Linked DNA regions of Homo sapiens: region 1 is linked to region 2. Evidence: promoter capture Hi-C in 16 types of primary human blood cells and fetal thymus (Javierre and others, 2016). All regions are on one chromosome and are shown on one strand. The core of a region is centred on a gene start or on the middle of the fragment in contact, and the rest is flanking DNA. Distances in the headings are between cores, read along the strand shown.

What was found. The method cuts DNA at HindIII sites, captures the fragments that hold promoters and counts their contacts. A CHiCAGO score of 5 or more calls a contact.
Region 1: a fragment that was not itself captured here is called in contact with the fragment with the promoter of PTTG1IP2 in region 2 in 1 of 17 cell types (M2 macrophages); the score reaches 5.6 in M2 macrophages.

Annotation. Positions count from the first base shown.
Region 1 is chr7:91,013,969-91,019,455 of GRCh38, reverse strand. All of the region lies in intron 10 of CDK14 (cyclin dependent kinase 14), which reads right to left. Among named protein-coding and RNA genes, the nearest start is that of FZD1, 250 kb to the left of the region's middle. The HindIII fragment of the contact is 5,554 bases long and covers 132-5,487 here.
Region 2 is chr7:90,467,796-90,473,704 of GRCh38, reverse strand. It overlaps PTTG1IP2 (PTTG1IP family member 2), which reads right to left and starts at 4,066. Exons shown (of 7, transcript NM_001365443.2): 1 at 3,774-4,066. The coding sequence starts at 3,918. The HindIII fragment of the contact is 9,262 bases long and covers 3,492-5,909 here.

The sequences.
Region 1 (5,487 bases), core at 1,659-4,158, 550 kb before region 2:
CTGGAGTCTCTGGCTATACTTTAAAATCATGTATTATTGTTCATAATTCAGTCAAAATTGAAAACAGATCAAAGCTAGATCTATTTGGTGTAATTTTCCCTGGGTAAGGATGCAGTAGGAGTGCTAAAGCTTAACGTTACAGACATGAAAGAAGTAGTCCCAGGAAGCCATTAGTTGAATGGAGCTGTCCATTCACAGGAGCAAGCCAGTCTACCAGGGATGATGGGGATGATGAAGAGAAAGCCAGCTCAGGACAGTGGCTGCTGCATCTCTGCCAACAAGAACAGCAAATTCTTCTTATTTATTGGAGTTTACTATATGCCAGGCTCTGTCTGCTAAAAACTCTCTTTCTATGTATTATCTTCAATCATCACAATGATCCTAATAAGTTAGGCACTTCCTGTGGTCTGAATGTTTATGTCCCCCCAGAATTCACAGGCTAAAACCTAATCCCCAATGTGATGGTATTAGGAGATTTGGCCTTTGAGAGGCGATTAAGCCATGAAGGTGGAGTCCTCAGGAATGGGATTAATGTCTGTATTAGTCCATTCTCACACTGCTATAAAGAAATACCTGAAACTGGGTAATTTATAAAGAGGTTTAATTGGCTCACTGTTCCACAGGCTGTACAGGAAACATGGCTGGGGAGACCTCAGAAAATTCACAATCATGGAGGAACATGAAGGGGAAGCAGGCACGTTTTACGTGACTAGAGCAGGAGGAAGAGACAGAGAAGGGCGAGGTGCTGCACACTTTTAAACAACCAGATTTTGGGAGAATTCACTCACTATCATGCAAACATCAAGGGGGAAATCCACCCATGATCCAATCACCTCCTGCCAGGCCCCTCCTCTCACACTGGGGATTACAATTCGACATGAGATTTGGGTGGGGACACACAGCCAAACCATATCAATGCCCTTGTAAGGAGTTGAGGAGATAGAGTTTTCCCCTTCTACCATGTGTAGACTCTGCAAGAAGATATTTTTTATTTATTAATTTTTTTGTGTGAGAAAGAGGGCCCTCATCAGATACCAAATATGCCAGGGCCTTCCCAGCCTCCAGAACTATGAGAAGTAAGTTTCCATTGTTTATAATTTACCCAGCTTATGGTATTTTGTTATGGCAACTCAAAGAGACTAAGACAGTTCTCTTATGTTCATGATACAGACAAGGGTCAGGAAGTGAAGTTCATTGTATGAGGACAAACAGCTAGTAAATGGAAGAGGAAGAAGAAGAATGGGGAGCTCACACCCAAAGGCCTAGGTTCTTTCTACAAGATCACACTGCTCCTCAGGCTTTAGAACAAAGATGGCTTCCTTTCCTTCCTGTTTCTTTTGCTTCCTTTGTACTGAAGATTTCAAATTTATCCAGTATGTATGTACTTGCCATTTACGTCATCAGTTATAAATTCACTCAGAAATACCACTGTCCCCCATGCCTCTTTTAGGAAACATGGTCACATTTATATGTCTGCTGTTTGCCAGCACAACCTCTGTCTGATGCACAGTAGATCTAATTTGGTTTCATCCAATCCCCGAAATTGGATGAAGCTGGTTTGCAGCCCATTTTTAGTTATGAAAATAATCTGGAAGGCTGGCTAGCATTTGTACCCTAGTGGCCCTGTAATTCAAAAGGGCTTGTTATCTCTGTGCACAGATTCACCTACTCAGAGAACAAAAGCAATATCAGAACACACTGGTGTTAGCCCTTCCTAAAAGAGTTATGTGAAGGCAGAGCCCTTCCAGACGCTGTGATACTCATCCATCATATAGCAGTGCCCATTTATTCTGTCTATGTCAAACACAAACACCTATCGACCATCTGAAGTAATCAATAATAGCAATACACAGACCAAAAGTCCATCATTCAGGCAGCACCACCAAGCACCTACTGCTGAGCCTAAAGTGTATATGAAAGCTGACCTGGAGATACCTTGTTTTAAAAGAGTTCATCTCTCTAAAAGCATTTTAAACTCCAACTTTAAAAATTATTAGGAAAATATCACATATGAAAAACAAAATAACAATTAACAATATTTGAGAGTATTTAATAAAAAGTGAGTCTGTTAGCATAGGCCCAGTCCTGAGCCCTGTAAGAAACCACCAGCTAGAAATCCTCCCTGCATGCCCTGGATATTGTATCATGTCCATCTGTTTAGCCACTTTCTCTTCCTTCCTCTAATGTGAACTTAGACCTAGTTTGTACTTAGCTTTTTTCCTTTATATATCTTAAAGAGCTTCTTCTATTGGAGAAAACAGTGGGGAATAAATTCTTAAGTCAATCACTCTTAAAAAGTGAAATATATCTCACTAAGAAGTATTAACTTCATAGAAAATAGACCTGTGTACTTAAATTATTTTTGCTCATTACAAATACATTCCAGCAGATAAAGTGAAGAAAGGAAACACCACTGGGGGCTCAAGAACAGTCAAAAAAGAGCCCCATAGGAATTTTGCCTGCCTTCTTCCTTAATATCATTTTGTTGCTTATTTCCCTTTCTTCTTTTTCTTAATAGGAAAAATAGGCCCAATGAAGTTTTTGGGAGGCTTTCGCAAAGGTCCCTTCTAGGTCATCTTCTGTGCCTTCACTGGTGTATGCGAAGTTACTATAGACAATGCTTTGTTTAGTTTTGTTTGAAAGTTTGGCTTATGAAAAAATATCACTCCTATTCCTCTAATAGAATCTAGGTTCCGAAACCTTAAAACATGCTATAGATGATGAATATAAAAACTACCTAGCATACATAGTAGCAGTGGATTTGCCACAGCAAGGTCAGAGATAAATATGTTATTCAAATTTCAAACGCACCCTACAATTCTGCTTAAGACCTGAACTGCAAAGCTCTCAAGAAGTACTCCCTCAACATCTGAAATAATTGAAAACCAGGTTGGGTGGGCTGAGGAGGGGTAGTTAAAATGCATAACTCACTTTCAAAAGAGGTTGATAGTCTAGCTGGAGCCATATGGTACCATAAAACAGGGTATAATCTAAATTTAAGTATCTATCTAGTTCATTGTACCACCTAGGATAATGGCTTGATGGCTTTTCATCAATATATGAGAGCATGTTTAGGACCGTCTAAATTGAGGAATACAAAATTCAGTCTGTGATTCCTGAAAGGCCACAAAAAATCATGGTAAAATGAGAGGCGTGTGTAAAGGGTGATTGGTAGAAACAAACATGTTAGAGTACTATGTTTTGTCAGCAGAGAAAACACATTGGTTTTCAAATATTCTCAAATCAAAATTCATAATGGAAGAAGTGCTAACCTACAGGCATTGTTCTGAAGGTAGATACTGGTTGTAGGGCTGCTTTTCTTGTGGGCAGCTCTATGTAGCTCCACACAACATCCTCCAGGGTGTTAGCAGCAGGGATCTATTTATTTAATGATGGTTCATATAGGCATTGCTCACTTTAGGTCAGTTATCCATATCTGAAAAGCCAATGTTCTCCATGAAAATACTGATAACCTATTTCCCATTACTTTAAATGAGAAATATTTTGATATAGTACATGTCAACCCCAAAATCCCAATCAACTTCCCAAAATGTAATTAAAACATAGTAATCTGCTAACATGTAAATCATCAACTATCATTTTAGGATGCTTGTTGAAAATCTAACAAATATTTTTGTGAAATGTTTATATGCCTTTTTTTTTTGGTATATAAACACAGAACTGATTCATACCCATATTCCATGAAGTAAGGTATAAAAAAACCAAGACAACCCCATCTCTACTAAAAAAAATACAAAAAATTAGCCGGGCATGGTGGCGGGTGCCTGTAGTCCCAGTTACTCGGGAGGCTGAAGCAGGAGAATGGCTTGAACCCGGGAGGCGGAGCTTGCAGTGAGCCGAGATCATGCCACTGCACTCCAGCCTGGGCAACAAAGCGAGACACAGTCTCAAAAAAAAAAAAAAAAAAAAAAAACCCAAGACATACTCTGCTGGGGTAGGGAGACCCAACAAACCTATTCATTGGGAAGATGAATGCTACAGGATACATCTTCAATTATTGTGAGCAATTCTGGGAGCAGATGGCATATAGGGTAAGTACAATCTGTTTGATCTGAATTGCCAGTGAAGAGTAATTATGAAAAGGAAGAGCATCCTGGGGCTAAAGACCCCATAGCAGTGAAGAATGTACAGAACTTGGGTAAGGGAGTGAAAACAGGGAGTGTCTTGAGGAAGGAGTTAATGCTCAAGGAAAGAAAAATAAGAATGACCTTAATTAGTAAGAAAACTGATCTGATTTGTTAAAGAGGAACAATGGGCAAGTAAGGTTGACACAGATAAGAAGAGATTAAAGTATCTGGACTTCATATAAAGCAGAAAAAAAATTAGCAAAAACACAAATAGATTAAGGCAAAGTCAAATGACACATTACACAGAATATTATCTATTACATAAAGATAGATAGACTCCTATAAGAGAAAAATACTAAGTATGCTAATAAGGAAAATTAGTGACAATGGACATAGGTTTCAAAGACTTAGCTGCAAGCAAGCAATATGAATTTTCATATCAACAAGGAACTAATCATAGACTTTGAAAAACTGAAAGGGGATTTCACAGTTGGCCCTTGCCCCAGTCAACCAGGCATCTTTAGAAATGGTCGGTCCATACAGCTAGGCAGGTGGACACTCAGGCTCCTCACCCATGCTGGGGCGTGCACCATAATGGAATTTAATATTTATATCTGAAATCGAACAAACTTCTATTAGTAACAATACACATAGCTAACCTTTACTGGCAGCTAACCTACTTTAATGACAATGAACCCATGGTATGGCTGTTTGATATATTAGCTTGCTTAGTGCTTTCAGAATCCCTATGCTTGTTTAATACTACTGCTACCTCTACATCACACTTAGCTTGGTCACAACATAGTCTTCTAATAAAAATAAGGGAAAAATCATCATCATTGTATGTTTTATAGTTGGTAACTCTAAACTCATTTATTAAAACTCTTGGAAAAAGAACATGGGCTAAATCATTCTAAACATGATCTCATGTTTGACTCCAAGAAAGGAACGAAAAGTTCACAAAGTAATATCAAATTCTGTTCTGGATTACCTTTGTGTTTCAGATTTCTCTTGTCTATAATAAAATGTTGAGTTGCAAAAGAGAAAAATCCCTGAAATATAAGCTAATTTGAGAAAGCAAGGGGGCCAACTAGTGCACAGCTTAATATAAACAAAAAAGTGTAATTTTACAGTTAAATTCTGCTCCCTTGTTCCCCAACCCCCAACTCCTCATTACCAGGAATGTATGTATTAAAACTTTGGTTTTTCTAATATGTGACTTCAAAAATCAGCACTGGATTATGATAAACTGAATGTGAATTCTGGTAATGGGACAAGTAGACAGACAAGAGATGTCATCTAGTGTGATATTTCAAGGTTCTAATACCTTGACAACTAATAAAACCGTCCTCAGCTTAAATACCAGAAGAGTTTATGTAAGGTACTCTCACCACATATG
Region 2 (5,909 bases), core at 2,817-5,316:
CTCAGATTTGGTGGACTAAAGGAAGGCATCATAGAAGAGGTGGAATCTGATCTAGGCCTCTCAATATCAGAATTCAGTTTTACATCACAATTCAGTATAATGTCAAATCCCCCATTTCTGCTAGTGGCAGAAAACCATAAACTTGCAATCTAAGTTCAGTCAATTAATTCATCCTCCTTTGAATAAACATTTAGCTAAATGTAGGGTTTGCTCCTTCCCCATTTACCTTGGGGATGCTATACTTTTCTGGGAGCAAAGCCTATGTGTTGCCCTGGCACTAGGGTGTGACTGGACTGAGTCCCCTCCTCCTTCCTTGCTAGCCTCACTGTGTGAATCTCACCTGTCCCCTTCTTAGGGAGTGTCATGTCTAGCATCTGTGGTCCTGCTGTGGTTTCTAGACGTGAGGTCCAGTATTCTCTGTGAAAGACCTTTCCCTCTTCAATTCTGCCAGCTGTCACAAGAGCTGCCTTGTCTGTACCCCACCCACTATATTGGGAATTTTAGGGCTCTCTAATCTTTTCCCTACAAAATTCTTATGTCCAAGGGATTATGACATGCAGTCCTTGAGTCCATTTGCTAAGATACTTCTTCCTGCTACTATTACCTACTGTTTGGGAGCCATGTTAGCTTCATGTTATCTATGAGACCAGTGGATTCAGAGTAAACTCTAGAAAGTGAGTCACAAGTTCCTAATATTTTCAGATTCCCCTTCAACCCATCTGAGATTTATATTATCTCACCCTTCCTTTACCTCAGCCAGAAGTGGTATACCAGGTTTCTCTCCTGGTTCCCCATCAGCATTTAAACCTTAGTGTCAATGCTGTAATCCTCCTAATACCTGCCTGCTGGTCAAAATCTTAAAGCACTTTTTGTCTTAAAGATGGCTATATGAAGTTAGGATCCAACCAGGAAAATAGAAATCACTCTGTGTATATATAACACTGGGAACTTAGTACCGAGATTGGGTATGCAGGTGATGAAAGAGGCTGAGAAGTTTACCAGGGGAAAGAAAGCGAAGTCCAACCTCCTCCCAGATAACAGTACCCCCTAGGCTAGAGGACAGAGGAATGAGGCAGCTACCAGAGCCCACCACAATAAGTAAGCTTAGAGTATGTGACAAATATTCTTGGTGTGTTCACCATTAGCAGAAATAAACAAATGAAGAGAGAAAACTCGGAAGCCTTGCCTTATATTCAAATTATTTGGCCTTCAATTTATTTCCTTGGAGCTATCTGCCTTTTAATTTCATTCTGATATCTTGCTATCGACTTCGAGGCTTGTTTCACTGAATATTTCTCGTTTGATTGTTCTCTAGCTCAAAGCACTTGTGGGAAATTTTCATGTTTCTTGAGTTGTGTTCTCTTCTAGGGTAGATTATTTGGGGTGTGTGTGTGTGTGTGTGTGTGTGTGTGTGTGTGTGTGTGTTTGCATGCTATCGTATACTCCTTTATTTCTTTATTTTGCTGTGCAGGGTTTACATAGTTGCTCTATTGTTTTCATTCTACTAATGCTTGCACAGCTCTGTTCAGACCTTCCATTTGTTCTGATATAGTGTAGGTGAGATCCTAACCACCTTACCATGATCCTTGAGATTTTTTTCAAGAAGCTACAGTTTTATGGCATTTTATGTTCTATTCACTCCATTGTTTTCAGCATTAGACAAGGGGGAGAACTCAAATGAGGCTGTGCCAGGCTTTGTTAGAATATCTGACTCTGCTCTCTCTTTTGAGGTTTGTCATTTTCCAGTGCCAAGGTTTGCTAGAGCTTATCAGAGGTGTTTCCCATTTCCATGAAGGGGTATCTTTGGACTCTAGATCCACCCTCAAATCCAGCTTGTAACGCAGGAACCTGAGTTTCCTTCAGAGAGTCAGGCCCTCTCTCTTCAGGTCCTCATTCCACCTATTTCTCTGCAGTAGCCATTTCCTCTTCTCATCTTCGGAATAAGAAAAAGAATGGATACCCCCTCAACTTGTTTCTCTCCAGATTTGGGAGAATTAATAAAAATTATTGGATTATAGTAACTCACTAGTTACCTCTAAGGGAGAGTGGCAACATTTGGAGTCTTGCCATGCTGTGCTATTCTGTTCTGATCTAGAATCTTCCAGTTCTTTCCTTAGTTGCCACTTATTTTTTGCACTATGCCCCTTTGTTGTCTGGTTACTTTTAGTGAAGAAAATTCTCTAGGTTTCAGTATATTTTTTAATCCAGTCATTAGATTCTAGAAGATTAACCCAAAGTTGCATCAAGTGCTTTCTATAATTTCTTGAGATATTGATTACTAAGCTCTCAAATGTAAATGAACATCAGAGATAGAAGTCCTGGGGATCAAAACAACCTGCTTAGGGGGAGGTCTCACTTGATGTGCAATCCTTCACAAAGTCCTGTCTGTTGCCTGTCACTTAGGGCACAATCTGGGACATAGATGAGGATCTCGTGAAGGCTTAGAAGCCCCTTTTCAGTTTTGGAAGTGAAAAGTATCATGATGTCTAAGAAACCATATCCTTGTTAGATGGGAAGATTAAATGCAAGCACTAAGGGGAACTGGCCTGAGACTAAGATGCAAGCATTCAGGAGAGGCCCTTGGCAGGCAAGGTGTTTCCTTAGAAACATGGGCTCCAGTTGGCCAGCCCTAGAAGTGAGCTAGCTAGCAACAGAAACTTCCATCTTTGGAGATTATCTTAGATGTGATTTTTGATTTATTTTATTTGTTTTCTTTCTTTTTTCTTTTTTTTTTTTTTTTTGTTCTTCATCAGCATTTTGATAAAGTCTTAAGACGTGAAAAATTTCCGGTATGAGTCCAGTTTGCTAGGGAACAAAAGGAAGAATTTGTTTTTATGTTTGGGCCTATGCTTTCAGGTGCTGTTTGTTGGGAGAAGGGGCCAGGATGGCACTGGAACACTATTTCTCTTAGAGTATGTATAGAGGTGACCAAGAGGTTAAAAAAGAGAAATCTGTGGGAAAGATGAAACCAAAGAAAACAAGCTAGCTCTTTTAATTCAGCGTCGCCCCAACCCTACCCCCTCGAAGGAGATTCTTATTTCAGTGCAACGCTGAGAACTGTGGATTTGGTTTTAGTAAGGAAGACTGATTTGCTTACAGATACTAACATTCTTTTCTACTCTGGAAACCAGACAGCAGTAATTATTCTGTCTCATTGTCTTTGTAAAAATGGCAATCTTGGCTTTACAGGGCACTTTCCAAGTAATTCAAATTCTGTCTCTTATTTTGTCTATACGGTTCCAATTTAGGATACTTAAAACCTTATTTCCAGGTTCATGAATTTAACTCAGCATGACTTTTAACATTTCAAAATTTTTTCAATTTGGAAGGAAATCGAGAGAGGCCTCCAAACTGAAGTAATTTTTTTATGAAAAAGAACAAATAAAGCATTTTATTAACTAAGACCTTAAAAAACTTAAGAAAGAGGAACTATGACCATTGAGTGGGTCTGATTAGAACAAAACCCAATGGCTTATTCACAACAAAAAGCTTATATGTCATAGGTCATGCAGAAAGTGATGGGGGAGAAACCATGCTTTTCCTCAAATTTAAAACTTTGAATCTACCTTTCATATTTCAGATAAACCAAATTAATCTGAGTCCAATTTAACTGAGTTTCACCAAAACCATCTAGAACCTTTAAAATGTCTTCCCACCAACACCAAATGACAACTTTTGAGATGAAAATTCCAGTGCACCAGGATGGCACCATTAAAAGGAAAAAAAACGCTGGAGCATGTGGGGCACCCACCTCAGGACTCCAGATCACTCACCCTCTTCATTCCCATCTCTTGGTTTCTGATTGTTCCTGGGGCTGTGGATAAAACCATTCTCTGAGAAGCTGATAAGCAATTGGATGAGAAAGAGGGAGAGGAAAACTGGCAGGAGGATCTGGCCCCATGCCCGCAGCCAGCACATCTCTCTTCAGACCTGGTGACCCCAGCCACTGGGAACCTGGCAGGCACCAGCTACAGTGTTGGACACTGAGACCCGCCCAGAGACTGTGACCTACCACAGCCCTGGGTGCTGAAGCTGCCACTTGCAAGCCCTGGATGCCAGCATAATCAGCAGAACCTTAGAATCCCTAATGTTCTAGCCAGAATGTAGAATGTTCATAGTGCAATCCTCGTCGGCACTGGGTCCAGCTTCCTGGGCCCTGAATACCATGTACAGTTGGTCCACTGGACTTGACTGAGGTCTATTTCTCCCAAATCAACACTTTTCCCTACTACATTGTTGTTTTTTGGAGAAAGACCTGGATTCTAATTCTCACTACTTGAATATGTGTACAGAAGTTGCACTCTTCCATGCTGCCTTTTCTCTGATGTAAATGAACCTACCACCCACTGCACTCCATGGGAGTGGTTGTGCGATCAATGAGTGGTAAGGCCGTGAAACTCACAGCTCTGTAAACCCTTGGTCTTGTCCTTGACTAGCCTGGTGATCCTATTGACGTGCTCTAATGCAGTTTCCTAAAGGTAGGTATGTTTTGGGTAGTACATAAATGTCTTTTATTTTCATAGTTATGAATTTATTTTAATGCGTATTGGAAAAATATAACCAGTAGTTACAATGATGTAATAGCAACGATATATGCTTTTAAAATAAATCTGTGCAAAAAGGACAATTTTCAGAAATATAAATAGTACACAACTTAAAGGATATGGCAAAAATTGGGGAGGTGGTTCCAGAATGACTGAAATTTGAGCAATCTTGCCCCAGTATGTGTGGTTGGGGAGGGGTAGAGGTGGGTGATGAAAACTTGTCCTTGACCAGGAATTATCTTGTTTTGTTTTTCAAAAACGATCAGGTGGGAAGATCGCTTGAGCCAAGAAGTTCGAGGCTGCAGTGAGCTATGATCGCATCAGTGCACTCCAGTCTGGGCAACAAAGCAAGACCTTTTCTCTAAAAAAATTATTTAAAAAAATTTAAAAAACAAATGTTGCAGTTTTCCCATAGTATTCCTGGCATATTGATCTAGACTGCATCCTGAGGACTATGGGTCTAGTATGGACAATAAAGATGGAGGAGGAGAAGATGTGCAGAGTTCCAGGCTAATTTTTCTTCACCCATTTGCAATGCAGAGGACAGACAGAGGGTTATTAGCTATAATATAAAAAGTGCTTTTATAAATTGACAAAAAAAAGGACAAAAGATAAACAATAGGAAAACGGACAAGAGATGTGGAGAATCCATGGACAGAAAAGCAAATCCAAGTAGCCAATGAATATATGAAAAAAATAGTTTAGAAACACTAGTACTAGGAACTAGGAAATTATAAATTAAAACTAATAATGTAAACATCAGGTAGGCAAGCATTTAAAAAGAAAACTAAGATATCATTGGTGAAGTTGTGGGGGAAAAGGTACTATTATACTTTTTGGAGGAACTGTAAATTGTTACAGTGTCTTTAGAAAGCAAACTTGTTGCTTTCTAAAGCAGCCATTAAAATGAAAAATACATATATTCTATGTTCATATTGTTTCTTGGAGACCTGCCCCTCATTGCCTCTCAGTTCTCATGGTATGGGTGGAGTTCCAACTCCTACTTTGGAAGTAGGACATGAAAACTACACCTGAGCAAAGCAGGTCATAAAACTTCCCTGGCCACCATGCCTGGCTCAGGAGTGGGGCACATGACCTAGGTTGGTCTAATCCAAGTCAATCTCAGAGCTTTTGCTAGGAATGCTAGGATAAAGATGCTTGTCTTCCTCTGGATTCAAATTTGGAAGGACTTAGTCTCTGTAGCTGCTAAAAGCCATCATAAGTCTATGTGGGAGATGGGCACGTTGGCTCATGCCTATAATCCTAGTACTTTGGGAAGCTGAGGCAGGCAGATTGCTTGACTCCAGGAGTTCAAGACCAGCCTGGGCAACATTGTGAAACCCTGTCTCTACAAAAAACAAAACA